Linked DNA regions of Homo sapiens: region 2 is linked to region 1. The links are contacts of gene promoters, found by promoter capture Hi-C in blood cells and fetal thymus (Javierre and others, 2016). All regions are on one chromosome and are shown on one strand. Each heading gives the region's core, a stretch centred on a gene start or on the middle of the fragment in contact. The rest is flanking DNA. Distances are from core to core; before and after follow the strand shown.

Region 1 (4,911 bases), core at 1,418-3,917:
ACATGCACCTTTGCTCAAGACAAATAGAGGCAACCCACGCTGCTTGCTGTACTAGGTGCAGGGATGGGGGCTTATCTTGGCCCGGTCTTTTTGGGCTGTGGGAGCCCTGTTTGGTAGGAACCGTTGTCACTTGCTTGGCATTTGGTAAACTGTTGGATGAGTGAAGGGATGATTTAAGTTTTTTTTCGCGACCATTTCCTGATCACTTCCCAGGTGCCAGGCTGTGTCATGCACTTGACCACCATTAACCCATGCCAGTTTCACAGAAGCCTGGCCTGCCACCCCTGGTGTATAGGTGGCCAAGCGAGGCTGGATGGGGCTTCCCGGCAGGCCTTGCAAAGGCTCAGTTCGGGGTGGGTGTCAGGTACCCTCAGTGGTTAAGACCCAGACTTCGTGGGTTCAAATCCTGGCTCAGCCAGTTGTGAGCTGAGTGACCTTGGGCAAGTCACTAAGTCTCCTGGGCCTGGGTTTCCTCCTGAAATGAAGAGGACAACAGTGCCCACCTCACAGAGTCCTCATGAAGATTCAGCAGAACAGGCACAGATAACCTCACAACGTGGCTTGATACATGGCAAGCACTAAGTACATGCTAGCTTCCATCCTCATCATCATCGCTTATGGAGCCTGCCAGGTCTGCAGCAGCCAGGAGGGATCCAGCCCAATCTGATGCAGCTGTAGCTGCAGTGGTCAGCAGGCTTGCAGGCCCCAGTGCTGACCGCTCCACCTGCCTGGAGGCCCCCCCCCACTTCTCCCCTCAGTCTGCTTTTCTCCTGCTCATTGGCTGTGTGCCAGGCCCCGAGGTAACTGTTTTACACAGATAAACTCACCAGTCATCACAAGGACCCCACCATGCAGGAGAAACTGAGGCACTAAAAAGTGAAATCTCCATCCAAATCCATACTGTTAGTAAGGGCTGGACGTGCCATTATTTGGTTTGCTTATCTACTGACCAGCTCCCTGTGCACTGGGTGCTTCCTGCCTAGAACACTATTCACTCGCGCTGCTCAGCCCCTGGCCTCTCCTGTCTCCACCCCTTCTCAGACTCTGCTCCCCTTGGTGGGCCACCCCACCCCCACCTTGGCGGTCTTGATGATCTCGGTGAAGTTGTCCATGATGGACTTAATGTCGTCCTTCAGCCGCTTGTTGTAGGACTGCAGCAGCGTCTCCTTGCTCTGGGGCAGGGCTCTCTGCTGGGCCATGGCCGAGCCTCAAGCAGCGCAGCGGGGAGACCTGGGACCTAGAGTGCAGCACAGACCTCTGAGTGCAGGCAGAGTCTACCCCAGCCACCCTCTATGCCCCAACCTTAGCAGAACACGCAGATTTCTGGGGATTCCCTTTCTGCCAAATAAAGTCAATCACTGAAACACAGATGAACTCATTCCATCAGCAGACACCGCAGGGGGTGCCAGGACTGGCCCCGCCTTTGCCAGAGCAAGCTCATCCTGGAACTCCTGGCCAGCCCTCCAAGCCCTGTCCAGGGCTCCAGTCCAGACTTCACGTCCAGGCCCACAGCGTGTCCCAGGGAGCCCTGCAAACTCAACACCAGCTCCCCGTCCCCAGCCCTTGGCTTAACTTCTTAGCCCGCCGCCACCTTCGCCACGCCCTCCCATCCGAAGAGTCCTTCCAATTCGACCCCTCTGCACCGCCTACATCCACGCTTTCCTTCCACTCCCACTCAGGCTGCCCCGCTCCAGACCTCATCCCTGCACTGCGGGCCCCGCTCCCTCCAGTCTCTGCGCGGCAGGGAAGAGGTCCTAAAAAGTGGTCATTCCAACCGGGCGCGGTGGCTCACGCCTGTAATCCCAGCACTTTGGGAGGCCGAGGCAGGGATCACCTGAGGTCAGGAGTTTGAGACTAGCCTGACCAACATGGTGAAACCCCAACTCTACTAAAAATACAAAAATTAGCCGGGCGTGATGGCAGGCGCCTGTAATCCCAGCTACTCGGGAGGCTGAGGCAGGAGAATCGCTTGAACCCGGGAAGCACAGGTCGCAGTGAGCCGAGATCGCGCCACTGCACTCCAGCCTGGGCGACAGGGGGAGACTACGTCTCCAAAAGAAAAAAAAAAGGGGGGTAATTCCACTCCCTCGCTTAACATCCCTCATGGTTCCCCGGTGCGCCGGGACAAGGGGCTCAAGTTCCGCGCCGCGCCTCTCGGCCTCTGCCCTCCAGCCGCACTGGACGGCCTCGGCGCTGGAGTTGCCTGGCCCTGGGGCCGGGCCTTTGCGCGCGGTGCTCAGGGAGGGCCCGGGGCCCCCTAGGTTCGGAGTCTGGCGCACGACCGAGCGGACTCCTGGACGCACTCGCATTGTTTGTGCCCATTTTTGGCGGGGTGTGGGAAATAAGTCACACGCAGGAAAGGGGATCTCCGACCCCAGCGCCTACGCACCCACCCACCCCCACTCCCGCCCACACACCCACCCCCCCTCCATCCCCACCCCCCACCACACCCTCATACCCGCCCCAGCGCCCGCACACCAGACGCCGCGTCCGCCGGGTCGGCCTAGGGCGGGGTGGTCAAGTGCCTCTGCGACCCGCACTTTCCCGCGTCTCTCCCACGGCCTGGCCCTCCCGCCGCAGTCTCTCTTCCCCGCCGCGCCGCGGTCCGAAAACCTAGTCAGCCGCCGCAGCCTCTCGGCCCCGCCTCGATTTTTAGCTTTATAGGAATGCTGTTGCTTTAAATCCGAAATCCCGTGCCGGTATCAACTCTCGCGATCTCCGAGGCCGCATACATATTACCCACAATTCCCTTTCCTTTCTCTCTCCTCCCGCCGCCCAAGATGGTGAGTGAGCTGTAGTTCCGTGGCACTATAGCCAGGTTCCGGCTGTATCCGCTGCCATCCTCCTCCAGGCGCGGCCTCGGAGGGCCTCCTGCTCCTCCTGGCGCTAGGAGAGCCCCACTCGGTGTGGCACGGAGACACCGAGGTGGATTAGAGCCCCACTTGGTGTGGCACGGAGACATTGAGATGGACTAGAGCCCCGGGCGGCCGAGAGCGGAATGCGTTGTTCCCGGTGTCGCAGGGCTGGGTGTCGCAGGCCTGGAGCACCGCAGTGCGGGGCTCGGAGCCCTAGCGTCTCTCGGGCTTGCTGGGGGCCGCTCCAGAGGCCTTGTGAGCGACGAGTTCTGAGCCCGCCCCTGTTGCTTCTAGAGCCTGTGGGGCCGCGACTCAGAGGAGTCATGAGTCCGGGGTGTCTCCTGGGTGGGCGACGCGAAGAGAGCGTGGTCTCGGGCTTAGCCTTGCTCTGGCCACTCGGGGTTCCCGGGGCTGCATGCTTGTGCGGCTGAATGTGAGATGCTCCTGTCGAGGGGTGGTGCTGGGGGGTTGCAGAAAGCTGCTCGCCAGCTTAGTTCAGGCAGGTGCTGTCAGCGTCCCTTGTTTTGGAGGAGCCAGCCTGAGCCCTACCCCCGACGAAGCGAGTGGAGGCGGCGGTTTAACTGACGTTTTCTTTCTGCCCAGCCGAAAGGAAAGAAGGCCAAGGGAAAGAAGGTGGCTCCGGCCCCAGCTGTCGTGAAGAAGCAGGAGGCTAAGAAAGTGGTGAATCCCCTGTTTGAGAAAAGGCCTAAGAATTTTGGCATTGGTAAGTAACAAACGGCAGAATGAAAACGGTCTATGTTTTTCTCAAGGGAAGGTGGTAATTGGGTTGTGTTGTATCTTGTAGGTTTTAGTGGGTGTAAAGTGGTCGCAGTCCTTAATTTGTGTCTCTTAGAGACGGGGGCAATGATACATGCTTCTTGCTTTCATTGGGAGTTGCTGAGCGAGCATTCAGCTCAATATGGTAGTGGCCTTGAATTCAGCTTAGCCATCTGGAAACAAGTACAGTAGCAGTGTCGCAGCGAGGTACTAGGACTGCAATTCTGCTGTACTTCGTGGCACCTTGGCTTCTTGTTAGATGAGGAAAAGCATCGTGCTCTTTGTTCTCAGGTGTTTGTGTGCAGATGATGTAAAAGAATATTTGCTATCTGAGAGATGGTGATGACATTTTAAACCACCAAGATCGCTGATGCACCAACACCCTTCCTAGTGGCCCCAGACATGAACTTGACATGGAATTTGAGCCTCACTCGGTGTCACCCTTTACTTCTCAGGACAGGACATCCAGCCCAAAAGAGACCTCACCCGCTTTGTGAAATGGCCCCGCTATATCAGGTTGCAGCGGCAGAGAGCCATCCTCTATAAGCGGCTGAAAGTGCCTCCTGCGATTAACCAGTTCACCCAGGCCCTGGACCGCCAAACAGGTGAGGTTCTGTGGCGTGGAAAGGAGTTTCTCAGGCAAGGATTCCTTATTTCATCCAGAACATGAGGGGGATGGTCTTAGGCTTCTTGAACTGCAGTTGTCATTAAATTATAGTCATATAGCAGGACCGCAGTCCAGCATTTGTTATTAAGTGTTAAGTGACAAGGATTAGAACCTTGACTCCAAGCCTAAACTGAAGAGTGTTTTTCCAGCTACTCAGCTGCTTAAGCTGGCCCACAAGTACAGACCAGAGACAAAGCAAGAGAAGAAGCAGAGACTGTTGGCCCGGGCCGAGAAGAAGGCTGCTGGCAAAGGGGACGTCCCAACGAAGAGACCACCTGTCCTTCGAGCAGGTGAGTAGGCCCCACCTTAGGGTGAACACTGGGGGCGGGCTGTTGCAGTGATGTAAAATTTCTTGGCCTGAAATTACTGTGAAGAGTAAAACCGAGCTTTTTAACACTGAGTCAGCAGCTGAGCCCAGCAGCTTCTTGTGACTAGAGCAGGCCCTGTGAGTGCTCACAAAGTGGTTGTGTGTTCTAGGAGTTAACACCGTCACCACCTTGGTGGAGAACAAGAAAGCTCAGCTGGTGGTGATTGCACACGACGTGGATCCCATCGAGGTGCGTTTGCCTGTTGACTGCTAACCCAAGGGCTTCTGGCAGTACCAGGAAGAGA
Region 2 (4,911 bases), core at 1,964-4,463, 320 kb before region 1:
TGGAAATTCAAGGACTCCCTGATCTGTATTCATCTCCTAAGGTGACTGTGAGAAATCGCCACACACTGGGTGACTGAAAACACAACACAAATGTGATTTTCAGAGTTCTGGAGGCCAGCAGTCCGGTAGCAAGGTGACAGTAAGATCCAATTCCGCCCCCCCCCCCGACTCACGTCACAGGAAATTAAACATTTAAGCTGAAAAAATGTTCAAACCAAGCAGGGCAGTGCCCATGCACAGAAGTGAGGCCCAACGGGCGAAGCGGACTCATCCTCCCTCCTCATGCCAACAGCAGCTCAAAGCTTCTCAATGGCAAAACTTCTACCAGGTCCTGTCTAAGGCCAAGATTCCTCCTAAAACCCAAACCATCCCCGAGGGGGCCAGCTCCTCGGTCCCTTCAGCAGGAGGGTCCCTGAGTCTGGAAAGAGGAGCTCAGCTCCAAGGGGTGGTGGTGGAAGATGCACCCTTCTGTGTCTTGTGCCAGGGGTCCCCACCTGTGGGCAGCAAGCCACCCAGGTGCCAAGGCAAGAGACCGAGGGCACAAGCTGTTCCAGTATAATAAAATATATAAAATAACAAGAGTTATACTACATATAGATCATAGATATATGTAAGTACCACTAATCATCAGTTTGTAGTAATTACTCTTTATTCAACTATTATAATAATCCTCGCTCTACAATCATAACCTAGGAAAAGCCAGGCCATACAGAGATAGGAGCTGAAGGGACATGGTGAGAAGTGACCAGAAGACAAGAGCATGAGCCCTCTGTCACACCCAGACAGGGCCACCAGAGGGCTCCTTGGTCTAGCGGTAATGCCAGCGTCTGGGAAGACGCCCGTAGCCAAGCGGACCGTGTTCTAGCAGTAGCATCAGTGCCAAGGAAAAGCACCGGCTACTTAGCAGACCGGGAAAGGGAGTCTCCCTTTCCCTGGGGGAGTTTAGAGAAGACTCTACTCCACCACCTCTTGTTGAGGGCCTGACCCGCCCACAGTTATCCGGAGGCCTAACCGTCTCCCTGTGATGCTGTGCTTCAGCGGTCATGCTCCTGGTCCGCTTTCATGTTCCATCCTGTACACCTGGCTCTGCCTTCTAGATAGCAGTAGCAAAATTAGTGAAAGCACTAAAAGTCTCTGATATGCAGAAATAATGGTGTAAGCTGTCTCCTCCCTCTCTTTCTCTCCACCTTGGCTGCCAAATAGGGAAGGGCCCCCTGTCCAGTGGACACGTGACCCACGTTACCTTACCTATCATTGGAGGTGGCTCACACTCCTTACCCTGCCCGCTTGTCTTGTATCCAATAAATAACAGCACAGGCTGGCATTCGGGGCCACTACCAGTCTCCACGTCTCAGTGGTAGTGGTCCCCCAGGCCCAGCTGTCTTTTCTTTTATCTCTCTGTCTTGTGTCTTTATTTCTACGATCTCTCGTCTCCGCACAAGGGGAGAAAAACCCACAGACCCTGTAGGGCTGGTCCCTACATCCACCCTTTCCCTGAGCAACAAACGCTGGTTGCAGCACCCAAGCGTCCTTCAGGAGCTCCGAATCTCTCCCGTGTGGAAGTGGCACATAGAGGCTGCCCCCCACCCCCAGTGTGCCCAATCCGCCCATAGGAGGTGGCTAGAGCTGTAGTGCCCTTCTGTCCAGTGGGATGAAATCTGCCACCCCACAGCAGGGCAAGATGCGAGAAGCATGCTGCGTTAGTCTGTTTTCTGCTGTTATAACAGAATATCCCAGACTGGGTAATTCCTACAGGAAAAACATTTGTTTCTTGTAGTTCTGGAAGCTGAGAAGTTCAAGGACACGGTGGCAGCATCTGCTAAGGGTCTTTGCATTCTTGCTGTGCCATAACATGGTGGAGGGCACATATGCAAGAGGGCAGGAGAGAGAGAGCCGGAGAGAGCTTGCCTCTATAACAAAGAGATAAGCAACTCACTCCCACAACAGCGACATTAATCCATGCATGAGGGCAGAGCCAACATTAATTTATTCATGAGGGCAGACAAATTAAGTTTCCAACACATGAAATTTGGGGGACATTTTCAAACCATAGCATATGCCCTGAATCCAGGCAGAGAAAGTGTCCCCTCAGTGCACAAATATTGTCACAGCTGCCTGCTCTGAATGCTGCAAGGTTTTGGAGAACGTTAAAGCTACTTCTTTTTTTTTTTTTTTTTTTTTTTTTGAGATGGAGTCTCACTCTGTCACTCAGGCTGGAGTGCAGTGGCATGATCTCTGCACACTGCAACCTCTGCCTCCTGGGATCAAGCGAGACTCCTGCCTCAGCCTCCCGAGTAGCTGAGATTACAGGCATGTGCTACCACATGTGGCTAATTTTTGTATTTTTAGTAGAGATGGGGTTTCACTATGTTGGCCAGGCTGGTCTCGAACTCCTGACCTCAAGTGATCCACCCGCCTTAGCCTCCCAAAGTGCTGGGATTACAGGCATGAGCCACCGCTCCCAGCCAAAGCTACTTTTTAACTGGGTTCCTGATCTTTCTTGGCCTGTCTCTGCTCCCAGCCTTGCCTTACTGCTCCTGCCTCTGACCTCCCGCTTTGGATCTCAGGCAGGACCAAGTCTAATCTCAAAAAGCTTGGTCTGATGCCCTGGGGTTGGTCCCTTGTCTTCCCCTCACACTCAGCCCCTCCTCACTTCCTGTGCACTAAGGGACACTCCTTGTCTGACAAGCCTTGATTTAGTGTCCCTATGACCATGCCCTGACCCGGGGCTCGATTGAAGGCTCAAATAAGACAAGTGGCCTCATTCAGTTGTTCAATAAATACTTCCTGAGCACCTGCTCGGTGCTCAGCCCCATGCAAAGCAGTGGTGACAGTGGGAAGACAGTGGTGAATAAGACAGACATGGTCCCTGTCTTCAGAAAGTTGCCACTCAAGTGGAGAAGTAAAAAAGAAAAAAAATAATAGTGCTTCCGGCTCCATGATGCAGTGGGTTTGGGGCCCCGGGCAGCGAGGATGGCACCAAACTAGTGTTTTGGGGTCAGGGAGGATTTACCAGGCAAATTGAAGTCTAAGGCAACAACCTAAAGGAGAGGAGTAGTTAGCCAGGTGGTGGGCCAGGGATGCTGGGGAGTCACTGGAGGCAGGGACAGACTGCGATCTCATTCTGGAAAGATCACTCTTGCTTCAGTAAGGAGGAAAAATACAGCAGACAAACTAGAGGGTCACTGGATTGCATGGTGGGCTCACTAAGGTTCCAGGTGGTTTGGAATCAGCTTTCCAAATTCAGAAACTCAATCTCAATACCCGGAGGTGGGAGTGCCATATTTAGCAAATTAAAAAATCACCTAGCTAAATATGAATCTCAGATAACACATATTTAGTATAAATATGCCCCAAATATTGCATGAATTCAAATTTAACTGTGTTCAATATTTTATTGGCCAACTCTACCAACAGTGACCAAGTCTTCATGACTGTCTTATGTGCACCAAACTCACAGGGATCTGATGTAAATACACCAATTTATTGATTTACAATTGCAGGCAAGGTTAAAATATACATGTTATTCAGTTTCTCCTTTCTGGAAAATGAAACAGTCAGAAGACTGGTGAACATGGAATGAGGACAAAAGGACACAAGGAAGTTTGAAAGGAAATTTCATCTCAAGGCATGGTAAATTCTGGAGAATCATCCTGGCCTCCCTACAGAGAATCCTCTTTGGTGGCAGAAAGTGCAGGTCCCCCCTGGAGAGGGCAGGTCAGGGACCACCGGGTCCTCGTGTGCAGCTCCCTGTGGAAACACGTGGTTCTTCTAGCTCAACCATCATCTGCTGGTGGTTGATTTCCCACTGTACTCTCAGGAGGTGTTCTTTCAAAGCTTTGGGGCTCCTGACCCAGCCTTCCAATTACAATACAATATATTTCACATTGAGGTTACACTTTAGAATGTATTCAGTGGGCTGAATTCATGTAGCTATTTATTCTGCCTTCTTAAACCCAAGGAGAGCAATCAGGTACTCTTCTGATTAAGAAATCACAGGCTGGGCACGGTGGCTCACGCCTGTAATCTCAGCATTTTGGGAGGCCGAGGTGGGCAGATCATGATGTCAGGAGATCGAGACCATCCTGGCCAACATGGTGAAACCCCATCTCTACTAAAAATACAAAAATTAGCTGGGCGTGGTGGCGCATGCCTATAATCCCAGCTACCCGGGAGTTTGAGGCAGGAGAATCGCTTATACCAGGGAGTCGGAGGTTGCAGTGAGCCGAGATTGTGCTACTGCATTCCAGCCTGGTGACAGAGTGAGGCTCTGTCTCAAAACAAACAAACAACAAAAAGAAATGACTTTAGGCAACATAGTGAGACCCCGTCGCCACACACACACAAATACAAAATTAGTCGGGTATGGTGGTGCACGCCTGTAGTCCCAACTACTCAGGAGGCTGAGGCAGGAGGATCACTTGAGCCCAGGAGTTCGGGGCTGCAGTGAGCCATGATCACACCACTACACTCCAGCCTGGGTGACAGAGGGAGATCGTGTCTTTCAAAAAAAAAAATCACTTCAGAAACGGGGTACCCATACCCAAGGGGTCACTTGCTCTTACTAATTTCTAGCTGTAATGCAAGTGGCATGATCATAGCTCACTGCAGCCTCCAACTCCAGGGCTCAAAGGATCCTCCTGCCTCAGCCTTTTGAGTAGTTGGGACTACTGTGGCATGCACCACCATGGCCGGCTAATTTTGTATTTTTTGGTAGAAATGGGGTCTTCCCCTGTTGCCCAGGCTGGCCTCCAACTGCTGGGCTCAACTGATCCTCCCGCCTCAGCCTCCCAAAGTGCTGGGATTACAGGCGTGAGCCACTGTGCTGGGCCATGATTCTCATCTCCCAATATTCTCAAACCCAGTCCCTTCATCTCTTGACTGGATTATGCAGTCTCGGAGCTGGTTTAT

The links. The method cuts DNA at HindIII sites, captures the fragments that hold promoters and counts their contacts. A CHiCAGO score of 5 or more calls a contact.
Region 2: a fragment that was not itself captured here is called in contact with the fragment with the promoter of MED22 in region 1 in 1 of 17 cell types (naive CD8 T cells); the score reaches 5.4 in naive CD8 T cells.

Annotation. Positions count from the first base shown.
Region 1 is chr9:133,345,464-133,350,374 of GRCh38, forward strand. It overlaps MED22 (mediator complex subunit 22), which reads right to left and starts at 2,668. Exons shown (of 5, transcript NM_133640.5): 1 at 2,459-2,668; 2 at 1,077-1,237. The coding sequence starts at 1,199. RPL7A (ribosomal protein L7a) reads left to right here and starts at 2,755. Exons shown (of 8, transcript NM_000972.3): 1 at 2,755-2,783; 2 at 3,459-3,579; 3 at 4,088-4,237; 4 at 4,449-4,589; 5 at 4,777-4,856. The coding sequence starts at 2,781. SNORD24 (small nucleolar RNA, C/D box 24) reads left to right here and starts at 3,933; the gene lies at 3,933-4,007. It overlaps SNORD36B (small nucleolar RNA, C/D box 36B), which reads left to right and starts at 4,631; the gene lies at 4,631-4,701. RefSeq lists enhancers at 241-744, 745-1,246, 2,551-2,845, 2,707-3,176. The HindIII fragment of the contact is 16,795 bases long and covers 1-4,911 here.
Region 2 is chr9:133,024,682-133,029,592 of GRCh38, forward strand. LOC105376306 (a long non-coding RNA gene) reads right to left here. Exons shown (of 2, transcript NR_135119.1): 2 at 3,471-3,750. Among named protein-coding and RNA genes, the nearest start is that of GTF3C5, 3.9 kb to the right of the region's middle. The HindIII fragment of the contact is 1,244 bases long and covers 2,592-3,835 here.